Linked DNA regions of Homo sapiens: all the other regions are linked to region 5. The links are contacts of gene promoters, found by promoter capture Hi-C in blood cells and fetal thymus (Javierre and others, 2016). All regions are on one chromosome and are shown on one strand. The core of a region is centred on a gene start or on the middle of the fragment in contact, and the rest is flanking DNA. Distances in the headings are between cores, read along the strand shown.

What was found. The method cuts DNA at HindIII sites, captures the fragments that hold promoters and counts their contacts. A CHiCAGO score of 5 or more calls a contact.
Region 1: a fragment that was not itself captured here is called in contact with the fragment with the promoter of HCFC1-AS1 in region 5 in 1 of 17 cell types (naive B cells); the score reaches 5.8 in naive B cells.
Region 2: a contact is called between the fragment with the promoter of DUSP9 here and the fragment with the promoter of HCFC1-AS1 in region 5, in 4 of 17 cell types (naive B cells, total B cells, total CD4 T cells and 1 more). The highest score is 7.3, in naive B cells.
Region 3: a fragment that was not itself captured here is called in contact with the fragment with the promoter of HCFC1-AS1 in region 5 in 6 of 17 cell types (naive CD4 T cells, non-activated CD4 T cells, monocytes and 3 more); the score reaches 8.7 in naive CD4 T cells.
Region 4: the fragment with the promoter of PLXNA3 here is called in contact with the fragment with the promoter of HCFC1-AS1 in region 5 in 9 of 17 cell types (total B cells, naive B cells, total CD8 T cells and 6 more); the score reaches 11.1 in total B cells.

The regions. Positions count from the first base shown.
Region 1 is chrX:153,587,542-153,590,241 of GRCh38, forward strand. CCNQ (cyclin Q) reads right to left here. Exons shown (of 5, transcript NM_152274.5): 5 at 384-913. The coding sequence ends at 824. Among named protein-coding and RNA genes, the nearest start is that of CCNQ, 10 kb to the right of the region's middle. The HindIII fragment of the contact is 4,721 bases long and covers 1-2,700 here.
Region 2 is chrX:153,645,890-153,648,589 of GRCh38, forward strand. It overlaps DUSP9 (dual specificity phosphatase 9), which reads left to right and starts at 1,314. Exons shown (of 4, transcript NM_001318503.2): 1 at 1,314-1,536; 2 at 2,030-2,437. The coding sequence starts at 2,065. The HindIII fragment of the contact is 18,543 bases long and covers 1-2,700 here.
Region 3 is chrX:154,355,639-154,358,338 of GRCh38, forward strand. FLNA (filamin A) reads right to left here. Exons shown (of 48, transcript NM_001110556.2): 28 at 2,561-2,700; 29 at 1,796-1,985; 30 at 1,613-1,636. Among named protein-coding and RNA genes, the nearest start is that of FLNA, 18 kb to the right of the region's middle. The HindIII fragment of the contact is 1,643 bases long and covers 630-2,272 here.
Region 4 is chrX:154,456,878-154,459,577 of GRCh38, forward strand. PLXNA3 (plexin A3) reads left to right here and starts at 1,404. Exons shown (of 33, transcript NM_017514.5): 1 at 1,404-1,551. RefSeq lists enhancers at 812-881, 2,307-2,700 and silencers at 972-1,141, 1,272-1,511, 1,752-1,821. The HindIII fragment of the contact is 19,869 bases long and covers 1-2,700 here.
Region 5 is chrX:153,967,435-153,970,134 of GRCh38, forward strand. HCFC1-AS1 (HCFC1 antisense RNA 1) reads left to right here and starts at 1,331. Exons shown (of 3, transcript NR_046608.3): 1 at 1,331-1,636; 2 at 1,765-1,937; 3 at 2,351-2,657. All of the region lies in intron 1 of HCFC1 (host cell factor C1), which reads right to left. RefSeq lists a silencer at 1,790-1,968. The HindIII fragment of the contact is 6,911 bases long and covers 841-2,700 here.

The DNA.
Region 1 (2,700 bases), core at 79-2,578, 380 kb before region 5:
ACCTACCAGTCCCCCGGCCCTACGCCACGTGCTGAACGTACGTCTAGCCTGAAAGGGGACCTAGAGAGCGCCTCCTGGACTGGTCTATTTCTTACCCACTGGCTTTTGAGCAAGGAGTCAGAGGGGTGCTGGGGGCCACAGCTCTGAGTTTCTCCAGCCTCCCCATCCAGACTGGCTACCTTGACATTTAAAAACGCATTACTTTTAGTTACGTTCGATCAGGACTCACTTTTCTGAATGCAAGTGATCCTCCCTAACCCCAGGCCTGCCGCCTGATGGCTGGGACACACTCTACCTGAGAGCACTCTGAGGGAACCAGTCTCTGAGGGCCCCTCACACCCCCATGTGCAGCATGCGCTGCAGAGCAAAGCCAAGGGTCCCTATTGACTTGTATCACCTTTTATTACACAAAATAGATTTCAGCCACGTTGCACATTCATTCTCCCTACAAATCTGGCTTTTAAGAAATCCGTAGGGATTCAGTCTCATCGATTTCATGACTTTCCTTTCATTGATGTCATGCCTGTATTGTAGTCAAAGTCCTCTCAAAGGACAAACGCAGATGTGGCTGCCTTGGGTCAGCTGCACACAGTACACTCCCGGCCTGCCCGCTGGAGGCGCGGCTCCCACCATCACCTGCACCGCGACTTCTAGGGACTGGCAAAGCGGCAGCATGCCATTGCCTTCTCCAGCCCTTCTCCAGCAGCACAACCAGTCCTCCCAGCTGGTCCTGTGGGGACCAGCCGTCATGGCGACGTGGTGACAATGTCCCCAGGCAGCCGACCATCCTGGGCTTCTCTTTGGGCAGGCCTGGGCCAGGACCTTAGGGGATCTCTGTGTCCATGGTATAAATCTGAATGAGATCAGACACAATATTATCAATGATTGGCTTGGTAAGGTCGTCATTAAACACCTAGAAAGAAGAAGGAAAACAGGTTCCAGTTAGACTCCCTCTATGTTAAACAAGGCACCTGTCACTAAGCAGAGAATCACATTTCATGGGCAGGGGAGGGGCACAGGGACTTGGCTATGTAGGAAGACAGTAGCTCTCCTGCAAAGCCAGTTTAATTCCAGCCCGTTGAGGCCAAACACTTTACAAGGCCGAGAACATTCCAGATGGAACAGGCCTTGGTGATCTTCTGACTCAGAGAGGAGGGGACCTGTCCAACGTCATACAGGGAATTGGTAACACAGCTGGGTCCAGAGCACAGGCTCCTGCCTCCTGCCCGGGACTCCCTCAGGTCCAGGGTCTCTGCGGACACTGGCAAGAGGAGAGGGTGGCAGTCCCTGTGCAGCCACAGGCAGGCTAAGTACCCGGACCCCACGCCTACCCTAACCCAGCCCCTGGGGAGCATGTGGACCCACTCCACAGTCCGGACCGCCACGTGCAGGAGCACTCGCAAGACGGCGAAGGACATCCTCGGGGCCCATGGCAGGAGGGTTGCAGCCCAGGGCCACGCCACAGGCTGGGGTCCACACCCTGTACCTTCCAAAGGCAGGTCTGGCCTCTGCCTGGCTCCTGGAGGATAACCTCTAGGCCCCTAGAAAATCCTGCCCCGTGTGAGCGTCTTGGTTTACTGGACTGCCAGGCGGTCTGTGCTAACCACATCATTTATGGTGAGGGCCTTGGGCCACAGAGTCCCAGCCAGATCTCTGGTGGCTGCAGCCCAAGTGACCAGGGTTGGCCACGCAGGCGCTCCATGCCCATGCAGCCCACCACCTCCCACGGAAACCCTGGCCGCCATGGCTGGGATGAGCTTCCCGGTTGTGACTCCGTGCTCGCTGTCCCACACTGTTGCCGAAAGAAACAGGTGCCGTCTGCACAACTCCCCTGGGCGAGGAGCCGCTGAAGCTCACGCCTGGTCTCTCCTGGAGCCCGCCCTGTGCGCCCTGAGCCTTCGCTCACGGTAACCTGTGTCCTTTCCTTGTAATAAACCGGAACTGGGAGTGTGACAGCTTTTCTGAGTTCCGAGCCCTCCCGGCACAGCACTGAGCCCCAGGGTGCTCTTCGGGATCCCCAATGATAAGGGAAATAGTAAGTAAAGCAGCAAGACCTTGGTCAGATGCTGCGTCTGTAGCCACCCTGTGCCAGAGCTTGCTGCCTGGGGAACCAATGTACCAATCAGATCAAGGCCTTGGGCCAAGTCAAGGCAAGAACTGGACCTACGTCCACCCCTGCTGAATGCTCCCAAAGAACCCTAGGTTCCTCTGTGGCCTACAACCTCAGGTAGGAGATGGTGACCTGGACGCCCTCCAAGTCCTGACTCAGGAAGCATAGCTGTCTTACCCTGGGCTCTGGGTGAAAAACAAATACTTCAGAAATGCACACTTGCTTGCTGGGGTCCATGACCTGTGTGCTCCTGGAGACCCCAAGCTCAGAAGCAATCATTAAAAAACATTCAGGGGCTGGGCATAGTGGCTCACGCTTGTAATCCCAGCACTTTGGGAGGCCGAGGCGGGTGGATCACTGGAGGTCACGAGTTCAAGATCAGCCTGGCCAACATGGTGAAACCCCGTCTCTACTAAAAATACAAAAATTAGCCAGGTGTGGTGGCAGGCACTTGTAATCCCAGTTACTTAGGAGACTGAGGCAGGACAATCACTTGAACCAAGGAGGTGGAGGCTGTAGTAAGCTGAGATTGCGCCACTGTACTCCAGCCTGGGCAATAGAGTGAGACTCTGTCTCTATTAAAAAAAAAA
Region 2 (2,700 bases), core at 64-2,563, 320 kb before region 5:
TGGGAAGTGTTACCTCGTTGGTCATTGTTACTTGTTTATTGGAGTGGCTTTCCTTCCACGCCTGAAGTTGAACCTTCCCCCAAATATTTGTTAGGCCACCGCATTCCCTCCTTCCTGCAGTATGCAGTGTTTTCAGGTTCTTTGCCCATTTATCTACAGGGGTCTTAACCTTTTAGTTGGGTATGAGCTTTATCTTATCTGGCGTACATTTTCCTTCAACACTGTTATTTGCTTTTGTTGAGCTTTAAGCAGAGAAGGGACTTTTAGCCAGATCAGCATTGTGGACACCTCCCCCTGACCCTGGTCTCCTGCCTCAGTGCTCACCACACCTGAGACCTTGTCCAGTGCTCTTGCTGCCTGTGGATCTGTCCCGCCTGTTGTGCCCATGGAGGAAAGGATGGAGGCCACCAGCCTTGGTTGAGTGGATGGCATTCTGACGTTGGGCAGGGCTGGGCAGGGCAGGGTGGAGGGCAGGTCGTTGCAGGCCCGGAGGCAGGGAGACTGTTGTGCAAGACGTGACAGTGACCTGGCCTAAAGCTGATGAATTTGAGCCCTCGGCTAGGGCAAGGGACAGGGGAGAGAGGCGTGGATGTGAGAGATATTTAGGTAGAAACTAGTTCTTTCCACTTTGATTAGCCGAAGGGGGGTTAAGGGAAGGAGGCAGAGGGGGGAGCCACGGGTGACTCTTAGGATCAGTAATGTGATAAGAGCAGAGTGCCCCAGTTTAGGGCTGGGAGCTCAGGGTTCCTGGGTGCTTTTGGCCAGTCCTGTGCGAGTGAAGCGGGCTGGTATTGGTAGGTATCCAGGAGCTACCCCTGCCTGCCTAGCCCTGCAGCAGACCTCTGGGCCAAAGCTGCACTAAGTTTCTGGTCCTGCCTCCTCCTCCCCTCCGTGATTTCGGTGGCATCCCAAGTTTGCCCAAGCTGCTAGCTCTGAGCCCATTACAGAGATGGGGCCACTGAGATCCAGGCAGGGGAGAAGATGCTCCAGTATCACCCTGTGAGTTGGGCTGGAGGCAGCTTCTGCGGCAGAGGGGCTGGGCTCTGGTCCTCACCCCTCCCCCTGCCTCCCGAGGCCAGGCTGGCGCCGGCCAGGGGAGCCGCAGCTGGTCCCCTGCTGGGCCCCTGACCTGCCCTTGGCCTCTGCCCCGACCCCGTCCCGCCTCGGTGGAAGCCCCAGCTCAGCCGACTCGCAGGTCCCACCCGACTGCTTCGGCTAGCACCCGTTGGCTCACCGGCCCGCCGGGCCCGCCCCCGGAGCCCCGCCCCGGCCCGCCCCTCGGAGTTGTAACTCCACGTCCGAAGGCAGTTTCCAAGGTGGAAGCTGGGTCCGGCTGCCAGGAAGCGGCCGGTGCGCGGGCTGCGCGGGCTGCGCGGGGCTCGGCTTCCACGTGCGAGCCTGCACCGCCGCCCCGCCCTCTCCTGGCGGCCAGGCCTGGGGACTCTCTGCCGCGGGACGGCGCCTCGCGTTCCGCCGTGGCAGTGGCCGTGGCCAGAACGTCCACGCGCGGTCGTCCACCGCCGGATCTCGCTCCAGGTCTCTTTCCTTTTGTTCTCTCCTAGGGGTAGGGGGAGATGGGGGACCGGGGGCCAGACCACCTCTGAGAGGACTCGCTGAGGCCCAGCACCTCGGCGCCTCCTCTGTTCCCCTGGCCCACCTGGCCCTGGGGGAGATCTAGGCCTCGAACGGCACTCCTCGCACGCACACCCCCAGCCAGAGTCGGAAGCTCGAACTTGGGGAGCGTTCGCGAGAAGACCGAGACAGGAGCAGAAAGGGGGTATGGAGGGAGGCGGCTGCGACCTCAGGGTACCCCAAGATGAGCCTCGAAGGGGCGGTTAGCCGCTCAGCCCTCTTCTCGAGGACCCTTCCCCGGGCCGAGCTGCTGCCTGGGGGGTTTCTTGGGGCGCCTTGTTGGGAGTCCTCATGGTGGGGGACCCTGGGCTCCCGCCTTCAGGACGCGGGGCCGGCTTCAAGTCTGAGCCCCCTCGGCCCTCCGGTAGCTCACACCGCGCCTTCTCTCTCTTCGCAGCGCCCGTGGTCCAGCGTGTAGGGAGCCGATCGCCCATGGAGGGTCTGGGCCGCTCGTGCCTGTGGCTGCGTCGGGAGCTGTCGCCCCCGCGGCCGCGGCTCCTGCTCCTGGACTGCCGCAGCCGCGAGCTGTACGAGTCGGCGCGCATCGGTGGGGCGCTGAGCGTGGCCCTGCCGGCGCTCCTGCTGCGCCGCCTGCGGAGGGGCAGCCTGTCGGTGCGCGCGCTCCTGCCTGGGCCGCCGCTGCAGCCGCCCCCGCCTGCCCCCGTGCTCCTGTACGACCAGGGCGGGGGCCGGCGCCGGCGCGGGGAGGCCGAGGCCGAGGCCGAGGAGTGGGAGGCCGAGTCGGTGCTGGGCACCCTGCTGCAGAAGCTGCGAGAGGAAGGCTACCTGGCCTACTACCTCCAGGGTAGGTGCCGCGGGGCCCTCCTTCCAGGGGGTTCGGGATTCATTTGACCTTAGGCCAGCCCCACTTCTTTTTTTCTAAAGCGAGTTGAGGCCCCCCTCCCCTGATGACCTGCCAGGCTGCTTTGAGAGGAGGGAAGCCTGAGTGTGACCGTGGGGAAGTTCTTCACCCTCGGCAGCCCAGTCTCTGAGCCTGGAAAATGGGGAGAATTAGCCTGACCTGAGCTAGTTCTCAGGATGCTCAAGAACGAATTACAAAGTGCGGGC
Region 3 (2,700 bases), core at 201-2,700, 390 kb after region 5:
AGCGGGAGGCAGCGGGGTTAGCACCCGAGTAGCGCAGCGCAGCAGGCTTGGCAGAGCGGGGATAGCACCCAGGGAGACAGGGAACAGGAGGCCCAAGCTACAGCCACCACTGCTGGGTTGCGAGGGCAGAGCAGCTGAGCAGGCTCCAGGGCCCCAGAGTGCCCGAGGAAAGGGGAGAGACAGTGACGTTATGATCTGGGTCTCCGCCGTGGAGGCTTGGGGGGCTGTGGGCTGTGAGGCCTGGCAGTGAGAGTGCCCCCTGCAGCCTGGCCTCCTGCCAGGGAAGCAGCCAGGAGCACGAAACCTACTTGAAGGCCAAGCTCGAGGGGCCCTGCCACCAAGTCCCACTATCGGCCGAGGGCTCCTGCTGCACTAGGCTCCATGCTGGCCTGCCGCGGCCAGGCAGCTCTCCCAGGCTCCAGACCTGGCTGCCGGCTGCCCACGCTGCCCTGGGAGGCTTCACTCATGTGCACCCCATGCCATCTAGTTAGTGGCTTGGGCCCCAACCTCACAGGTACCCGACTGCCCCCACTTTCCCTGCCCGGCTCCCAGCCAACCGCAGGTCTCAGCCACTCCATCCTCAAAGTATGCCTCCTAATTTGGCTCTCACTGAAGCCCCGTGGCCGTCAAGCTTGCCAGAGAGCAACTTCAGCGCCCCCTTCCCCACCCCGGGCTCCCTGTCTCCATTCTGCAAACAGTAGCCAGGGAAACTGAGGTTACTGAGTCTTGCTCCCACCCTCAAAGCCCCCAAGGCCCTGCAATCAGTACTCCCCAGCCTCCCCCGCCCTGCGCACACACGCCTGTCACACACACATCGGATCCTACGGCCTGCTCTATAAAGCCATCTCGCTCCTGCCGCAAAACTCTAGCCACCCTCTCACCCTTTCCTTAGCCACCTCGCCCAAGTGCCAGGCCTGTAGCCTCTCATCAGCATCCCTGGGTGTCCCTGGCTGGGGCAGGTGACCCTCCATGCCTGTTGGGGAATGTCTGAATAACGTCACTGCTGGGGGATAGGGGAAGGGGGAAGGAGGGAGACGGGCCACAGAATGCACTTTGGGGCTCTGAGGCTGGGCCGGGCCCCGCCATGCTGGCCGCCCAAGCAGTCGACACTGGCGCTACTGCACTACCAGCCAGCCCCACCCGCTCATGCACCTCCCCCGGCCCGGGACGCAGAGGCCCCTGGAAGGTGGGGATGGGGGTCTGTGGATCTGGCCAGGGCTGGGGCTCCCATTGAGTTGGGGAGACCCCTTGTTCCCTCAGCCCACGCAGGAGCCCTTGTGCCTCCCTGGGTGCCAAGATCCCGAGACCCCAAAGTCCCCAGTGGGGTGCCTCTCAGGATGCACCTCACCCCAAAGCTCTCAGCTGCAACCCGAGTTCTCAGATGGGGAAATAAAGGCCCAGAGAGGGGAAGAGCTGGAGCGGTCATGCTCAGCTCCGGAAGCCTCCCTGGGCCCTCGCCCTCCAGCCCACGGCCTCATCTTCTGCACCCCACCCAACTCTGTCCCTGCCTAGAGCTGCAGCTGGAACTGTCCTGGGAATCGGCCCCAAGAGGAAAGGAAGCTGCCCCTCTGGGCAGGAGGGGCATTGGGAGTGGCCCCAGCAAGCAGCTTACCTAGCCCGTGACCTCCGATTGACACTGAGGTGAGAGGGCAGAGAGCAAGGAGAAAGGTCAGGTGAGTCACTCAAGGGGGCGGCCCCCACTCCCACACGCCGCCCCAAGCAGCGAGCCCTTGCACACAGGCACAACCCAAGCCCCGTGCCGAGCGCCGCAGCGGCCAACAGCGGGCGGGCTCACCTGTGACAGTGCACTTGCTGGCGTCCCCGGTGGGCACGGCACGCACGCGGTACGGGGAGAAGGGGATCTCGTCACCACCGTACTTGATGAGGATGGTGTAGCGACCTGTCACGTCTGGCACGTAGGCCACTGTATACGTGCCGTCATGGTTGTCTTGGATGTGTGTCTTCTTCGGCTTGCCTTCGGGATCCTGTGTGGCAGAGGCAGGGGAGGCAGTTGGCCCAAGCCCGAGTAGCCCCGGGCCTGCCTCAGGCGCTCCCAGAGTGCCCAGCGCTGCTGCTACAGGGACAGTCTCTGGGCCTCAGGCATCTTAACTGCTATGGCCCAAAAGGGCTGCCTGCACCTGGCAGAGTCCAGAATGGAGACTAAAACATCCCACACTTCCCACATGACAACAGGCGCGGCCAGCCAGCTTGGCACCCATCCTCAGCCCCAGGGCCTGGCCAGCACTAGGAGGAGCTCACCGGGGTGATCTCAAGCTTCTATCCTATACCTGCCCCATGAGAATATTACAGGTGGGGAAACTGAGGCACAGAAGGCTTTGGTGACGTGCTCAAAGTTAGCAGCAAGTGCACGTCTGGGGAAGCCTGTGCCTGTCACCACCATCCTAAGGTAGTCACAACCTTAGCAAACCAAAGACAGGGGCCCTGTCCTTCCCTGCCCTCCTTGGTGCAGCTCCGCAGGGAGATCAGACACCAGCCACCCGCAGCCCACACTCCAGCCGCCCAGGCCCCCCTGCCTCCCCTGCCTGTGCCCGGAGCTCACCGTGATCTGGACAGCCAGCAGGCCCTCCCCGGCGTCCTTTGCATCGATGGTGAACTCCACGGGCAGGCTGGCAGGCACGCCAGTGGTGTTGAGCCCGGGGCCACTGGCCTTCACCTTGCTGGCATCATGAGTAGGCAGCA
Region 4 (2,700 bases), core at 154-2,653, 490 kb after region 5:
TGGCGACAGAGCAAGACTTTGTCTAAAAAAAAAAAAAAAAAAAAAAAAAATTCTCCTGCTTCAGCCTCCTGAGTAGCTGGGACTACAGGCATATGACACCATGTCCGGCTAATTTTTGTATTTTTTGTAGAGATGGGGTTTTGCCATGTTGGCCAGGCTGGTCTCGAACTCCTGACCTCAGGTGATCCGCTCACTTCAGCCTTCCAAAATGCTGGGATTACAGGCTTGAGTCACTGCACCCAGCATATGCCAGTACTTTGGAAGGCTGAGGCAGGAGGATTACTTAAGCCCAGGAGTTCAAGACTAGCCTGGGCAGTGTAGCAAGACCCTGTCTCTCTCTACAAGAATAGGAAAAGTTAGCCAGGCGTGGTGGCACTTGCCTGTGGTCCCAGCTACCTGGGAGGCTGAGGCAGGAGGATCCCTTGAGCCCAGGAAGTCGAGGCTGCAGTGAGCCATGATCCAATGCCGCTACACTGCAGCCTGGGTGATAGAGCGCGACCTCAACTTGGGGGGAAAAATCTGTCTATCTATCTATCTCTCCATATATGTGTTTAATAAAAATGGGCAAATGACTTGAATAGACATTTCTTCAGAGATCATATACAAAAGGCCAGCAAGCACATGAAAAGATGCTGAACACCATTAGTCATCAGGGAAATGAAAAAGAAAACCTTAACGGGGCGCGGTGGCTCACACCTGTAGTCCCAGCACTTTGGGAGGCTGAGGCGGGAGCATCGTTTGAGCCTGGGGCGGTCGAGGCTGCAGTGAGCTATGATCTCACCACTGCACTCCAGCCCGGGTGACAGAGCGAGACCCTGTGTCAAAAGAAAACAAAAAAAGAAAAGGAAAAAGAAAGCAAGGGAAGGAAGAAAGCCCTCGGTTCAGGGTCGCCGGGGAAGGGGCTGGTTTGGACGGCTGTCCCGCAGGCCCTCCGGGTTAGAGACCGTCGGGGGCGTGTCTTGAGCTGGGGACGCGACTCCTCGGCGGGGGTGCACCTGAGAGGCCGGGACCAGCGAGGCCGCGCCCCGGTGGCAGGTGACCCCGGGCGCGTCTCCGAGCGCCAGGGTGGGGCGAGGCGGACGCGCGCCCCAGGCCCGAGGGGGTGTGGCGCGGGCGCGCGCGGGTTCCGGGGTCGCCCGAGGCGGCGGGCGGGGAGCCGGGGCGCGGGGGAGGCGCGCGCCGCGGACGCGGCCATCGAGCGAAGGGGGTCGGCTGGCCGGGCGGGTCCCCCTTCAGGTCGCGGGGGTCAGGGCTGCGCGCGAGGTCCCTGGCCCCGGGGAGCAGCGGCCCCGCCTGCGTCCCCTGCCGCCGCGTCCCCCTCGGCCGGGCGTCCCCGGACGCCCCCGCCCCGCGCGGTGGTACGGTCCGGGTTTAAAAGGCTCCGGCGGCCCCCGGGCCAGCCCAGTGTGTGGGCGGCGGCGGCGGCGGCTGCGCGCTTGGGGCCCGGGGCGCGGGGCGAGGCCGTGGGGACGTGCGAGCGGGGCCGCGGTGGGGCTCGGGGGCGCGTCCACGTGGCCAGAGGGCGGCCACCCGGAGCCAGCGGAGGGACAGGTAGGTGGCCGTCATCGTCGCCGTCCGTGCGGGGCCAAACAGCTCGGGGCCCGGGGCTCCGGCAGCCCGGGGGTCCGGCTCGGCCTGTGGGGGTCAGGCCCTATCCCTGCCCGTCGGCGCCGGCCTGCCCGACTCCTTGTGCCCCGCATGGTGGGGACGCCAACCCAAGACCAACACCCTGCCCAAAGAGGACCCTTTGTCGCAGGGGAGCGGCCCCTCGGAGGATCAACGCTGTACTTCCCTCCCGCTAAGGGCTCCGCGAGTCCGCCGAGGGGTGCCCTGATGGGGCCCGGGCAAACCGGACCAGCAGCACGGTGGGGGGTGTGGGGGGCGGCCGCTGGACCCCCGTCTCTGCGTGGGGCTGCCCCTTCCTCAGGCTCTCTGCTGGCCCAGCTGTACCTGTGATGCCCGAGGTTGCCACTTACAGGTGGGGGCTGGGCCTGAAACTGCCTCCCCAGGTCTCCCTCCCGACCTGTCCCCAGCCTGTTCCTAGGCTTGTGTTCCCGGGGTGTAGAGGAGGTGAAGACAGGATGTGGCCTCTCTTTTCTTTGGCCTTCCTTTCTTCTCCGGCTGTTGCATGAGGGGTCCAGCTGACAAAAGAGCCCTGGAGAGGTGATCAATCTGAGCTGAAACTTTGCAGTTTCAAGCTGGGCCCGCTGCTTGTTCCTGGCAAATGCCTTATTTTTCCTTTCTCTCTCCTGTGCCTCCTTGGTTTGGTTCCCTGCACCACCCCCCGCTCCCCCCCCGCCTCCCGCCCTCAAGCTGGGTACCTCCTATCTCCCCCGGGAGCTCTGGCACTGAGAGGGTAGCGCTGAGCCCTGCCCTGTTGGCTGCCACGACACTGCTCTGCTGTCTTAGCAGCCTGGGGCTGACTGGGTGTGGCCTGGGGACTAAGTGCCAGTCCCAGCACTGTCCCTGTGGCTCCTGCCCTGTCTCTCCAAGGCCTTGACTGTATTTGGGGACATTGCTCCTCCTCTTGTAAGGCTCCTGGGACTCCAAAGGGCAGGTAGGGCCCCCTGTACATTCCCTTCTCCAGTGAACCCCTGGGTCTGGAGGGGGAGCCATGCAGGCTGTGGCTGAGCAGAGCTTGACTGATGTGTGTCTGGGTGCGTGGCTGAGGGGCAGGCGCGACTTGGCTTTGTGTTGCAT
Region 5 (2,700 bases), core at 81-2,580:
CCTAGAGACTGGTGCCCATGCAGTGAGGTGGCCGGTCAAGTTCAACGAGCTGCCTTCCTCTCTGTTCTACCTGTCACATTAGAGCATTTCCTGTGTGGCATACGACGTGCTGGGAGGCACAGAGGACACCGATCTTGTGCTCATACTCCCAATGGGGTAGGAAGGCTGCATGCCCCCCTCCCACGATGAGACAAACACCCTAGAAGAGCTCTGACCAAGCCGGGCCCTTGGGAGCACAGAGCAGTGCGACTGCTGGAGAGGGGAGGACAGGAGTGGAAAGGGCTTCTCAGAAGAGGTGACGTTTCAGCCGGGCCTTGAAGGGTGAACAGGATTTCCCGACAAATGAAACTAGCAGGGCCAATCAGGAAGTGACTGCAAGAGTCTAGTAAGAGGAGAGGAGGGCTTGGTGTGGAAGGGGACACATTTGATGCCTGCCCAACGCAATGAACAATTAGATACAGGGACAGAGGAGAGAATGGAGGCATTTCAAAGGTGATGGGCCCCAAAGACAGGTGGCAGAACGGCCTCTATGAAGGTTTGCACTCCCGCCCAACTCCGCCACCAGCTGGGAGGGCGACCCTGGACCTGTCACTTCCCCTCTTGGACCCCAATTTCCTCATCTGCAGAAACAAGGAAGTAGTTCCACTAGGTATTTTCCAAGGCTCCCTCCAGCTCCAAGAACCTATGGACATTACAGAGCCACCGTAGCCAAAGCTCTCGCTCCCCCACCCCCCACACCTGGCAGCACTCTGAATCCTTTGGCTTGCCACATGGAACTAAAATTCCCTAAGGACAAGCACAGTAGCTACCCTAAGAGCTCTCAAAGCACACACCCCCTGAAGCTTTCTTATCCTAGCAACGGGAACCCCTTCCAGATCAGCTCTCTCCAAAGGTACAAGGCTTTTTGAGGACTGATCCCGCAGAACTGCAAGGGGCACAGGCGTGAGAATATGCCCTGATCTCATCCCAAACACAACAAAAGAAGACAAGACAAAGGTGACGAGGCCGGGCTGGCGGGAGGGGGCAGAAACCCCGGTGAGGAAGAGGGCTTCAGGTCTGCCAGCTGCTCTCTCGTCTGAGGAATTGCCGATGACAGTTTCCAAACTGCTACCCTGGAGGATCCCAGAGCTTCATTTTAAGCAGCCCTTTGGAAGGCAGGCTACCCCTCTAATGCACAACCTGTCTTTGCAGACTGGTAATGAATTCATGCCAAAGTGGTCAATTCATTTTAATAAACTAATGAATATGCAGAGGCCCCAGGAAGCCAAGGCAGCAGTGGTGGTGGACTCTGGAGCCGACTGTAATTAGGCCCCTGCCCTACTTTCTAAAATTGCATTTCCCTGCCAGGGAGCCTGCTCCAGGCCTTATGAGAAGAAAGTCGGTCCACAGAGTGGAGAAGGTGCTGCTCATGGTGACGGTGCCTCTATAAACAGCCCCACCACTGGAGAAGCCTTAGCTTACTGAGCTAATTCCTGCTACTGCAGCTGCCTGGGCTGGCGCGGGGCACCACCAACCACCAAGCGCCCCCGCCCGGGGGCTGCTGAGAAAGGCCCTGCTCCCTGGAGGCAACAGGTGCTGAGAGACCTGGAACGAAAAACGGTCACAGACAACCCACCAGCCTTTCAAAGTCAACGTGGTAGGTGGCGATAATCTCCGAGATGTGGAGAAACCAGCACTTTCTGCCTTGGGGGGTGGGGAAGGAAGCGGCACCCAAGAGCCCAGCTCCAGCCTTCCCAACTCCCTAAACCAACTTTCTCCCTCCAGGCAGCTCCAGCTTCCCACCCCCAGAGCATCGAGGCACTGGAGCTCAGCCAAAGAACAGCAGCCTCTCACCGCTCAGGACACAAAGCCCACTCAGCGAGGGTTTGTCTGCAGGGCCACCACCGAGGCCAGGGGATCGCTAGAGCCCCCAGGAGAGAACGGCCGCGGAGCAAGGGGTTAGTGCTGGGAGCCGTGCCTGCCACTCAGGACTAGGGCATCCCAAGGCCCTCCCCCAGCCGCCTGCAGGGGGCTTTTCCCTCACCCAGACTCTTCCAGCTCTTGCCTGGGACCGAACTCACCCTGACCCTGCCTTCTGGGCAAGGCCAGGGTCCTGTGGGCCAACGGGCAGTCAGTAGGCAACTTGGGAACTGACCCTTGTGCTAGGGGCACAAAACGGGCCAAGTAGCCACCAAGAAAAAGGATGCCACAAAGCTGTCGTGGACAGCAGCAGGCTTTCTGCCCTAGAGACTAAGCAAGGCTACTAGGCAGAGGCAACAACAAACGGCCCCCACGAAGGCCGTGGTGCATCAGCCATACCTGAAGAGAGAGGTTCCTCCCCTTCCCAACTAACGGGCTTTGGGTTTTGCAGGGAGGCAGAAGAGCGGGTGGGGTAACCCCCTGGATCCGCAGAAGCGGGGAGACACACGACTACGCAGGCCGCTGAGGGGTAACTGGAATTCAGCTTGTAAACCAGAAGGCACCAGATTAGGAGAAGGGGCGACTTGGAAAGAAATGCTGCAGAAGTAAACGTGGAAAGGGAGAGGCGGCCCTGCCGCCGGCCCGTCCTAGGGGTCCCCAAGGCTCCGGCATTACCCGGGTCGGCGGATGTTAAACTCTGCGTCCTAAGAGCGCTTCCCTTCCCTCCCTTTTTCGAGAGACAGAGAACGAATCTGTAATCTAGAAATGGTCATTTCTCCAGAATGGGCACTCGAGATGAGG